Linked DNA regions of Homo sapiens: region 2 is linked to region 1. The links are contacts of gene promoters, found by promoter capture Hi-C in blood cells and fetal thymus (Javierre and others, 2016). All regions are on one chromosome and are shown on one strand. Each heading gives the region's core, a stretch centred on a gene start or on the middle of the fragment in contact. The rest is flanking DNA. Distances are from core to core; before and after follow the strand shown.

Region 1 (6,247 bases), core at 857-3,356:
ACAGAAATAGACTAGGATCCCCAAGATGCCCTCCCAAATTAACAAACCTCTTGGATCTCCCACAGAACATTCTAGAACCATGTCCTGGGACTGATCTAGAACAGAAGCTCCAGCCCTCCCCATGCAGGGATGCCATTCAGCCTAGAGTGAAAATAAGTGGTTTTTGTGATGCCACAAAATGTATTACAGAAACAAAGTACTCTGTCGACTCAGGAGGCAGGAAATGAAAGGACACTTACTGTGAGAACACACAGATGATGTCCCCTTCAGTCAGTTCATAAGGAAGCCCTCCTAGAAGAGAAAACCACATTTCAGTTCCACCAACATTTACCAAGTGTTTACTACATACCACGCACTAGGCCAGGCACTAGGGGTGGAAACAGTAAGCAACAGGCCCTGCCCTTAAAGAAATCAAGTCTGGGCTGGGCACCGTGGCTCACGCCTGTAATCCCAACACTTTGGGAGGCTGAGGAGGGTGGATCACCTGAGGTCAGGTGTTCGAGACCAGCCTGTCCAACATGGCGAAACCCCGGCTCTACTAAAAATACAAAAAAAAATCAGCCAGGTGAGGTGGCGGGCACCTGTAATCCCAGCTACTCAGGAGGCTGAAGCAGGAGACTCGCTTGAACCCAGGAGGCAGAGGTTGTAGTGCGCCGAGATCGTGCCATTGCACTCCAGCCTGGGCGACAAGAGTGAAACTCCAGCTCAAAAAAAAGAAAGAAAGAAAGAAATTAAGTCTGACTCAATGACAGAAGTACATGTAAGGTGCCAGTAGTACAGAAAAAGGAGTAATTAATTTTGAGTGGAAGTCGGGGTCACCACTAACGAAACTAATCTGATCACTCAGTCCTCCTGCCACCCAAAATCCTATGGACAAAGCAGATAGTTTCCATCACAAACCTCTGCTTCCACAAACATGTTGAATTCATCTGCTCATTACCCACAAATTTACAGCTATGATACAAAATCAGTCTACATATGTCATGATTAACCCCACCTACACATAGACAAAGGTTATAAAGACACTGTTAAGCATTTCCTAGGGAATAATTTCCCCTCCAAATATTTATTTCCTCATTTGTAAGATGGGGATATTAGCACGTAACTCGCAAGATTATTATAAGAGTTAAATAAAACGATGTATATAAAGTGCTTAGCACAATGTTTGGTACAATAACCTCTTTGAAGCATCAAACTTGTACAATTACTGATTGTGATATAAAGTGAATACAGTAATGGTAACGTGGCCATGGACTAGAAAGCAGGAGCTAGAGGAGCAAAGTGAATTCTGGAAGGGAAGGGGAATGGGGGAGGGTGGTGGTAGCAATATGGAGCTGTGGCTAAGACCAAGAGTTCTAGAATGCTATAGTTCTGCCTGTTGCGCTTACTAGCTATGTGACCTTAAGGAAGTCCCTTAACTTCTCTGCACCCCAATTTCCTCAGCAGTATAATGGGTCAGAGGGTGAGAGAGAAATAACAACAGTCCCTGAACCTTAGCACAGCAAATGGCAAACAGTAACTCTCATGAGCACTGATTTGGCAGGGAAGGAAAACTAAAAATGGGGCAGAAAAGAGATGTAACACGGATTCCCGGGCAGACAGCAGATGGATATGAAGGTGGGCGATGAATGTAAGCAGGAGTGAAGGGTGAAAATGCCGAAATAGTCGGAAACCGAGCAGGAGAATCTGGAGAGCACTGAGGAAGAAAGATGTGGACCTCACCCAGGAAGATCCAGGCGCTGTCCTTGTACTCGGAGTGCCAGGACACCTTATCGGCCACCCCAAGCTGGACCTCTCGTTCATTCAGCTCGTTGATCAGCTTCACCTTAGTTAAAGGGCTTCACGGTGGCGGGGGGGGTGGGGAGGGTAGGCAGAAAAGCAGACAAGTAAGTGCGAACCGGCCGGAGCTGAGGAAGAGCAAAACTAGGGGACGAGCTGTTCCAGTCCCCGCGCCGCTCCCGCCCCTCGGCCCCGCAGACGCTCTACCACACCAGTCCCGGTGGACCACCCCCAGTGGCCCGCTGCTCCTTCCTCAAAAGGAAGCTGACGCCTTACTTCATCTCCTCGGGTTCGCGCTCAGCACTCAGGAATCAGCGCCCGGGAAAGGCAGCGCAGCGCATGCGCGGCCCCGGCGCCAGTGGCCAGTCGATTCGGTGACCTCGCGCCGGAAGAGCCGGGGCGTACCGGGGCGTGGCGCCTGCGCACTAGCAGCCTTCCGCGCTGCGTGCGGTTACCTCTTGGAGAGGTGGTTTTTCTCTAGTTTTTCGCTTTTTCTTCTCTGTGAAATGGGGTAAAGGCACAAGCCTGGGCTGTTGCAGGACCCCCACCTCTTGAACGATATCTGAAACTGGTTAGATTAGCTATAAATATTTGCTGAGTGAACGGAACAAGCAGCCTGATGTGGCGACTTTAGTCTCAGCCCTCGCTCCCAGTCCAGAGTCCCACTTGGACCTTCGCTCCTAGTCAGTTGCTAAAGCACAGACCCATCAAAGCATCCCTGTCATGGCAGAAAAGTGAAGAAGATAGGTGAAAAGGTAAATCTTCTGTTGTCCTTATCCCAATACATAGGCAACAGACCAGTGTGCTTCTATAGGCTGAATCGAATACCTACACATTTGCATGAGAACTGCTGCACTTACTCTTTTCCATAGGCTCTCTCCTAGTTGAGCAGGAGGCAGAAATTAATATTGTTAAATTAATAGCTAACAATTGAGCAGATGATGTACTATACGATGCTAGAGTATGTACTAAGCAATTTACATGTATTGTCTCTCCACCCTCACAACAACCCAATAAAGCAGAGAAAATTACAATCCCTAGCCGGGCACAGCAGCTCAGCCTGTAATCCCAGCACTTTGGGAAGCTGAGGTAGGAGGATTGCTTGAGCTCAGGAGTTCGAGACCATCCTGGGCAACATAGCAAGACCCTGTCTCTAAAATAAAGGGAAAAAAAGGGGGGCCAAGTGTGGTGGCTCATGCCTGTCATCCCAACACTTTGGGAGGCTAAGACGGGTGGATCACCTGAAGTCGGGAGTTCAAGACCAGCCTGGCCAAGATGGTGAAACTCTGTCTCTACTAAAAATACAAAAATTAGCCAGGCATGGTGTCACACGCCTGTAATCTCAGCTACTCAGGGGGCTGAGGCAGGAGAATCACTTGAACCTGGGAGGCAGAGATTGCAGTGAGCTGAGATCGCACCACTGCACTCTAGCCTGGGCAGCAGAGTGAGACTCCTTTTTATTTAAAAAAAAAAAGAAAGAAAAGAAAAAAAATTTCCACCCTCATTTTGTAGAGGAAGAAATGAGGCTCAAAGGAATAAATTAACTTGAAAGGTACTCTACCTGCACCCGTCAGGTCAGGTTGATTTAATCAGTCCTTACTGAACATCTAGATTTGTCCTGTACAGCTAAGGTCTGTAGACAGGAGTATCAGGGTGGGTCCTCTGCCTTCAAGGAGCTAATATTATAATTAAGGGGACAAGATATATTTGCTTGATAGATTTCAACCAGAAATATCTAGAAACCAGTGGAAGAGATTATTAATGTATAATATGTGATTTAACCCATATTGACAGTTTGAATCCATTTTGCATGTGTCCACATCAATACCTGCTCTTGGACTATGATGTTCTAAAAGTGAAAGTCCAGAGCTGTGCGGCCTAACTCAGAGCACCAGATATTAGGTCCTTCATAAAAGCATTTTGATGATGATAACAACTGTACCCTCAAGTGGCCCACCATGTAACCAATGTCCTGCCAAGAAGGAGAACAGAGGCTGCCCACCAATGACAGTTCCTCCTCATTCATTCTGTGTCTGTTCCCCCCTCCCCATTCCAACCCAGCTATTCATTAACTTTGTAAAATTATCTTGGCAATGAAAGCTAAACAGTGACAGATTGCACATGGGGTTTATCTGCTCCTAGGAATCTCAGGTTGCTTAGTTGTGGGTTGAAGTAGCCATTGCAGAGTGGTAAACTAGCATGCAGCATTATCTTGCTGACTTCTTCAAATGGCTGTGAAATGAGAGAGTTAAGACTATACCTGGGGATTAGTCATCAGTGTTCCGAGAGAAGCTGGAGCAAAAGAGTAGAATAAGACCAATTTAGATTGAGAACATGAGAAGGCTATTATTACTATGCAGCTGGTAGGTTCAGCAGAGGTATTCTGAAGGTGAGAGAGCTGAATATTGCTCCAGTTTTCCTGGAACTGAGAGGTTTCTGAGACTTCTGACTTTTGGAGCTAAAATTGGCAACCCCAGAACAAACCATGATGGTTGATCACCCTAGGAGATCCTGAAGTAAATAACGAAGCAAGGAAGTCGGATTTTCCATAGATGTACTTGCATTTGGCAGGAATTGGTAGGTAAGATGATGCCTAGAGATACCCGTAAGTCTGAGTTGAAAAGAGGTGGGGATGCAGAGGACCCTCTGAATCTAACATCTGAAAGTAGAACGAGGGTTTGGCATCCAAGGTGGCTATAAGTGATCTCCACCAATAGCATCCATTTAGAAAATATTCTATGCAGTATTTAGTTCTAGCTTCTGAGGGTAATGCTAAGGTAGTCAAAGGCAGTCCCCACATTCAAGGAAAGGCTGAACTATCTAGCCAGAGTCATCTCCCAACTTCCCACCACCACACCACACCCCCAAACAGTTTTTCCTCCAGACTTCCCTATTTTGGGCAATATTATCACCATTTTCCTGGTTGCCCATACTCAAAAACATGGGTTTCATATTTCAGTCTTCCCTATTCTTCACCTCAACATATCCATTCACTCACCAAGTCCTAACAATTGTACTATTGAAGTATCTATAAAATGTGTCTCTTCCAGTCACAGTCCTATCTGAGCCATTAGTACATGCCTCCTAGCTCTTTCAGTACTCTTCTAGCTGCCCCAGCCCCTACTCTCCATTCTCTTCTGTCACTGCTCCCCCACTAAAAAACTCAACTTAAGCCGGGCTCCACTTCTATCCATTCCCTCGAAGGCCCCTTTCATCATCCCACCTAGGCACCTCTGCTGAGAGAGCCTCATAGCCCTGGACCACCCTCCTCTCTCTCACTGAAATCTGCCCAAGCCCCAAGCCCCCAACAAGTCATTCATCATGCAGGAAACCTTTCCCGATCTTATGTGCCCACAGTGATGGCTCTCACTTCTGAACTCTGTAACACTACAGAACTCCTTTATGTTCTTCTCCCAGAAAGACCATGAAATCCTGGAAGGTAAAGGATCTGCATTTATAAGCCCCTCAGAACCTCAAGCCTCGAACATTTTCCTATATACATAGAATGCAACCAATATACTTACTGGTTAATGAAATTGAAAAATCACACAACTATGATTACCTTTAGGAAAACAGATGAGGGTAGGGGTAGAGAAGACTTTATTTTATTTTCCCTTTGTTCATTTCTATATGGTTAGAATTTTCCTTTTTTTATTTTTATTTTTATTTTTATTTATTTATTTTTTTTTTTTGAGACAGAGTCTCACTCTGTCACGCAGACTGTAGTGCAGTAGTGCAATCTTGGCTCACTGCAACCTCCGCCTCCCAGGTTCAAGCAATTCTCCTGCCTCAGCCTCCCAAGTAGCTGGGACTACAGGCGTGTGCCACCACAGGAAGACAGCGAGGAAGCCATGTGAGTGTCTGGTAAAACAGTATTGTTCTGAGACACTCTTTTGAGTGTATTTCAGAAACAGAAAGGAGGCCAGTGTGGCTGGAGAGGAGTAGGCAAGGGGGAGAATGATAGATTTTTGTTTATTTGAGAAAATCTTACTTAGTACCTACCATGTACCTGACACTGTTCTAGGTACTTTACATGTATAAATTCATTTACTTCTTGCAACAACCCTATGAGGCAGATATTATTATCCTCACTTGGTAAATGAGAAAAGAGAGGCACAGAGAGGTTAGGTTGCTTGCCCTAGGTCACACAGCTGGTAAATGGTAGAACCAGGATTTGAATCCAGGTCATATAGCTCCAAAGTCTGCACTCTTAACCCCTATACACAGGATAAGTTGAGGTAAAGAGAACAGATCAAACATGGCCATGCTGGGTACTGGCTTTGGAATTTACTCAGTGTGAGGTAGGGAGTCACCAAAGAACTTTGATCTGATGTACATTTTAGTAGGTTCACCTTAGCTGCTGTGTTGATAACAGACCAGGGAGGGGGCAGGGGGTGCCTACAGTAGAAGCAGGAAGACCAGTTTGGAAGCTCTACAATAAATCAGACGACGGATGATGGTGATTTGT
Region 2 (5,836 bases), core at 2,532-5,031, 520 kb before region 1:
TGTATATATATATGTGTACATATATATATGTGTGTGTATATATGTATATGTAAGCATATATATATATTTATACATTGTTTATTCATTCACCTGTTGATAAACATTTTGGTTGTTTCTAGTTTTTTACTGATATGAATAAAGGTGCTATGACATTTACACACAAGTATTTGTGTGTATATATATATATATGCTTCCCTTATATATATTTTTCATATATATTTTCCATTTTCCATATAAATATTCCATTTATATATATATATGGAAGCATATATATAAATATATATAAATGGAAGCATACATATATACACAAATACTTGTACACAAATGTCATAGCACCTTTATTCATAACAGTTTTTTACTGTAAACAACCCAAATGTTTATCAACAGGTGAATGAATACACAATGTTCTGTATATCCATGCAATGGAATGCTATTCAGCAATTAAAAGGAATGTACTACTGGAACATGCAACAAAATGGATAAATCTCAAAAACACTCTGCTGAGTGAAAGAAGTAAGAAACAAAGGGGTGCAAACTATATAATTTCATTTATATGCAATTCTGGAACAAGAAAAGTATAACAAAAAAACAGATCAATGATTGTCTGGAGTTAGGGGTGAAAGAACTGACTGCACAGGGGCACAAGGGAATTTGGGGTGAGGTAGTGATGGAAATGTCCTATATTTTAATTGTGTTGGTTACATAGGTGAATAAATTTGTCAAAATTCATCAAACTGTACACTTTAACTTAGTGCATTTTATTTTATGTAACTTATAATTCAATAAACTTGATTTTTTTTAACAATGAGCTAAATACTTGAAAGGCATTTCTCAAAAAAAAAGATATCCAAATGGCCAATAGGGCATTTGAAAAAGTGCTCAACATCAATGATTATTAGGTAAATTTAAGTCCACCAATGAGTTACAACTACATGACCATAAGAATGACTTAAATTAAAAATACTGACAATAGTAAGTGTCAACATGGAAGTGGTGCACCTGGAACTTTTATACATTGCTGGTGTGAGTAAAATTTTAACTATGTTGGAAAAACATTTGACAGAATACTTAAATAACCCATATGCCTGCCCTATGATGCAATAATAGATATATTTTGCTATATATCTAGATATATTTTCCAAGATAAATGAGTACATGTATTTAAAAATGATATGTACAGAGTGTTCCCATTGATTTTATTCATAATAGTCTCAAACTGAAAACAACAAAAATTCCATTAACAGTAGATGGAATAAATGTTAAATTCATATAATGGAATACTACACAAAAATTAAAAATAGACTACTAGCACACGCAACAACATTGATGAATCTAACTGAAATATATTGAATGAAAGAAGTAGAACTAAAGAGTACATACTGTGTCATTCCGTGAGTATTACACTAAAAATTGACAAAACTAATTTATGATGATAGAAGTCAGAATAGTAGTCTTCTATGAGGATAACTGGGAAGGGGCAAAATGAGCCTGCTAGATGCTGAAAATATTCTATATCTTGGTCCGGCCATGGTTACGAGGTGTTTACATGTATAAACATTCATGAAGCTGCACACTTAAGACTTGTGCACTTTATTATATATAAGTTATAGTCAACACATTTAGAAATGCAAATGGAATAAGCAATTTAGTAAAAAGACAAAGATTTTCAAGTTAGATTTTAAAAACACAACTCTGTGCTCTTTAAAAGAGACACTTTGCCTAAAGCATGGAAGAAAGTCAAATATAAAAGAGCGGGAAAAGATACACACCATGTAAGCAATAACTAGAAGAAAGTTGATATAGCTATATTATTATGACTCAAAGTATACTTACGGAAAGAAGGATATTTCATAATGGCAAAGGAATTCAACAACAGAATTCAAAGATTAAGAAAGAATTAAATGGAAGATACAAAAATCACTAGTTCGTAGGGGCATAATACAACCTCAACAGGGAGATGTAAAAATCATAAATGTTTGTGCACACAATTTCACATTTTTTTTATTATACTTTAAGTTTTAGGGTACATGTGCACATTGTGCAGGTTAGTTACATATGTATACATGTGCCATGCTGGTGCGCTGCACCCACTAACTCGTCATCTAGCATTAGGTATATCTCCCAATGCTATCCCTCCCCCCTCCCCCCAAATTTCACATTTTTAAATACATAACACATAAGTTCATGTAACAAAGCAGAAATAGACAAATCTACAACTGTAGTATGAAAAATTAACACATTTCTCAAAGTAAATCAGAAAATGCAGAAAGTCAGTACTTATATAAAGATATAAACAACACAACAGATGAAGTCGACCTAATCGACATACATAGAATACCATTTGCAAAAATAGCAGAAAACACACTATATTCGAGAGCTCACAGAACATTTCCCAAAAAAGACCATATGTTGAGTGATGAAGCAAGTTTCAACAAATTGTTAAGACTGAAGTAATATAGGAGAGGCTCTGTAACCAAAATGAAAATTAACTAGAAACCAATATTAAATAAATATCCCCAAACCTTCAATTGTTTGAAAATGAAGCAATACCTTATAAATAATTGATAGGTCAAAAAAATACAGTGGAAAGCTGAAAATATTTTGAATTGAATAATCTATTTTGACATAAACTATCAAAGTGTAAGATTCAGCTAGATCAGTTTTCAGTAGGAAGATTAAAGTTTTAAATGCATGAACTAAAATGAAAAAAGTTGAACATCAACGATCTAATCTTCCTGCTCAAAAAGCTAGTAAAACAAATTAACCTAAAGAAAATATAAGAAAGGAAATGATAACAAGGACAGAAAACATTGCAATAGAAAGCTTATGTACAGGCCAGACACCTTTTTCCACTATTTTATATTTGACTTTCCTGCATGCTTTAGGCAAAGGGTCTCTTTTAAGGAGCACAGAGTTGTGTTTTTAAAATCTAATTTGAAAGTCTTTGTCTTTTTACTAAAGGCTCACACCCATATTCACAGCACTTTGGGAGGCTGAGGCAGGCGGATCACTTGAGCTCAGGAGTTCAAGACAGCATGGGCAACATGGTGAAACCCCACCTCTACAAAAAATACAAAAATTAGCCAGGCATGGTGGCATATGCCTATAGTCCCAGCTACTCGGGGTGTTGAGGTGGGAGGATTACCTGAACCTGTGGAGGTTGAGGCTGCACAGTGAGCCATGATCACACCACTGCACTCCAGCATGGGTGACAGAGCAAGACCCTGTCTCAAAAGAGAGAGAGAGAGAGAGAGAGAGAGAGAGAGAGAGAAAGTAAGTAAGTTAGTTTATGTACAATTGAAAAAATTTTTAAAGTCAGAATTTAGTACTTTAGTAACAATATATATAAAGTATAACATATTATGACAAAGTAGGGTTTGTCCCATTAATAAAAGATTCTTTAACATTTGAAAATCAATGCAATTTGCCATATTAATGGAATAAAGGAGAACATCTATATGATGATCTCAGCATTTGCAGAAAACACACTTGATAAAATTCAGCATTCATATCTCAGCAATTAGGAATAGAATACAACTTCTTCAACCTGATTGAGGACTGTATTAGTCCGTTCTCATGCTGCTATAAGAACAAACCTGAGACTGGGTAATTTACAAAGGAAAGAGGTTTAATTGACTCACAATTCCTCAGGGCTGGGGAGGCCTCAGAAAACTTACAATCACGGTGGAAGAGGAAGCAGACATGTCCTTCTTCACAAAGCAGCAGGAGAGAGAAGAATGAGAGCCTAGCGAAGGGGGAAGCCCCTTATAAAACGATCAGATCTCACGAGAACTTACTCACTGTCATGAGAATAGCAAGAGGGAAGCTGCCCCAATGATTCAATTACCTCCCAACCGGTCCCTCCCATGACACATGGAGATTATGGGAACTGCAATTCAAGATGAGTTTTGGTGGGGACACAGCCAAACTATATCAAGGACATTACATGAAACCTAAAACTAGCATCATAGTCAATGGTGAAAGATCGAATACTTCCCCCCTAATATCAGCAACAAGGCAATGATGTCCACTCCCACCACTTTTATTCAACATTGTACTGGGAGTCCTAGTCAGCACCATAAGGCAAGAAGAAGAGATAAAAGGAATACAGATTCAAAAGGAATAAATTAAAACTGTTTATTTGCAAACAACATGATTATGCTCACAGAAAATTTCAAGGAACCTACCAAAAAGCTACTAGAACTAATAGGTGAATTTAGCAAGGTCACTGGACAATAGGGCAATATACAAATATCAATTATATTTCTGTATAGTAGCAATGAAAAAAATGAAAAATGATGTTAAGAAGATAATTCTATTTACAACAGCATGTAAACAGAGAAAACAATTAGGGATAAATTTTACAAAATTTTTTATAAGATCTGTACAGTGAAAACTACAAAATACTGCCAAGGAAACTGAAGAAGACCTAAATAAATTTAATATGCCAGGTTCATGGAAGGAAGACTTAATATCATTAAAGATGTCAATTCTTCCAAATTTGATGTATGCACTCATGAAAATACTATTCAAAATCTCAGCAGCTTTCAAAAAATTGATAAGGCAATGTAAAATCATGTATGAAAAATCAACAAACTTAGAATAGCCAAGAAAATTAAGGAGGAAGAGAAAAAGGAGGAAGAGGAAGGAAGGGGAGGTATCGAGAGAAGGAGAAGCAAAGGAAGAACCACCACCTCCAACACTATCCTAACACTATCCTCCAACACTATCAAGCTTAAGTACTTATACTACTAGATAGCAATAATTATTATAAAGCTATAGTAATTAAGCAGTGTGGTATTGATAAAACCATAAACAGGCAAGTGGAATAAAACAGACAGCTAGGAAACAAATCTACACATACAGTAACTTGCTTCATGACAGAATCATCACTACTACTCAGTGGTGAAAAGATAATTCTGGGTAAAGTGAATACTCATAAGGAATAATTAACCTTGACCTCTAACTCACATCATACACAAACATTAATTAATTCTAGAAGAAAAGTAGAAGAATATTTTCATTATATTCAGGGAAGCAAAACTTTCTTAAATGGACAGAAAAAAATAGCCAAAAAAAGCGATAAATTGAGCTTCATTAAAGCTAAGAATATCTTTTAATCAAAAGACAAGATAAAAATAAAGAGGAAAAGGGCCAGACACAGACTGGAAGAAGATCTGTATATATGCTGATACATATTCAGAACATATATAATAAACTTTTATATATCAGTAAGAATAGATTGACAAAGTTTTAAAATAACAGGCATACAAAATGGACATCCAAATGATGCACCCATCATTATTCACTGGATAAATATAAGGCTACAAAGAGGTACAGCTAACCTACCCTTCTCCCCCACCAATCAGAATGGCTAAAATTTAAAGTACTGACCATACTGTTGCTGTGGATGTGAAGTAACTTAACTTTTGATACATTGCTGGCAAGAGAATAAATTTGGTGCAGCCACTTTGGAATATACTTTAGTTATACAGACATACATCCGATAAAAATTTGTCAAGGTGTACATGAGATTGGTACATTTTACCATATATGTTACATCTCAATAACAAGAAAGAATCAGAAATATGAGTGATATGGTTTGGCTGTGTTTCCACCCAAATCTCATCTTGAATTTCCATGTGTTGTGGGAGGGACCCAGTGAAAGGTAATTGAATCATGGGGGCAAGTCTTTCCCATGCTGTTCTCATGATGCTGAATAAGTCTCACAAGATCTGATGGTTTTAAAAAGAGGAGTTCTCCTGCCAAAGCTCTCTCTCTTTGCCTGCTGCCATCCATGTAAGACGTGACTTTCTCCTCCTTGCCTTCCTCCATG

Evidence for each region. The method cuts DNA at HindIII sites, captures the fragments that hold promoters and counts their contacts. A CHiCAGO score of 5 or more calls a contact.
Region 2: a fragment that was not itself captured here is called in contact with the fragment with the promoter of RBMX2 in region 1 in 7 of 17 cell types (monocytes, M1 macrophages, erythroblasts and 4 more); the score reaches 10.9 in monocytes.

The regions. Positions count from the first base shown.
Region 1 is chrX:130,397,846-130,404,092 of GRCh38, reverse strand. It overlaps RBMX2 (RNA binding motif protein X-linked 2), which reads right to left and starts at 2,106. Exons shown (of 6, transcript NM_016024.4): 1 at 2,056-2,106; 2 at 1,723-1,838; 3 at 240-291. The coding sequence starts at 2,060. The HindIII fragment of the contact is 29,468 bases long and covers 1-6,247 here.
Region 2 is chrX:130,920,564-130,926,399 of GRCh38, reverse strand. No RefSeq gene overlaps it. Among named protein-coding and RNA genes, the nearest start is that of ENOX2, 20 kb to the right of the region's middle. The HindIII fragment of the contact is 1,911 bases long and covers 2,826-4,736 here.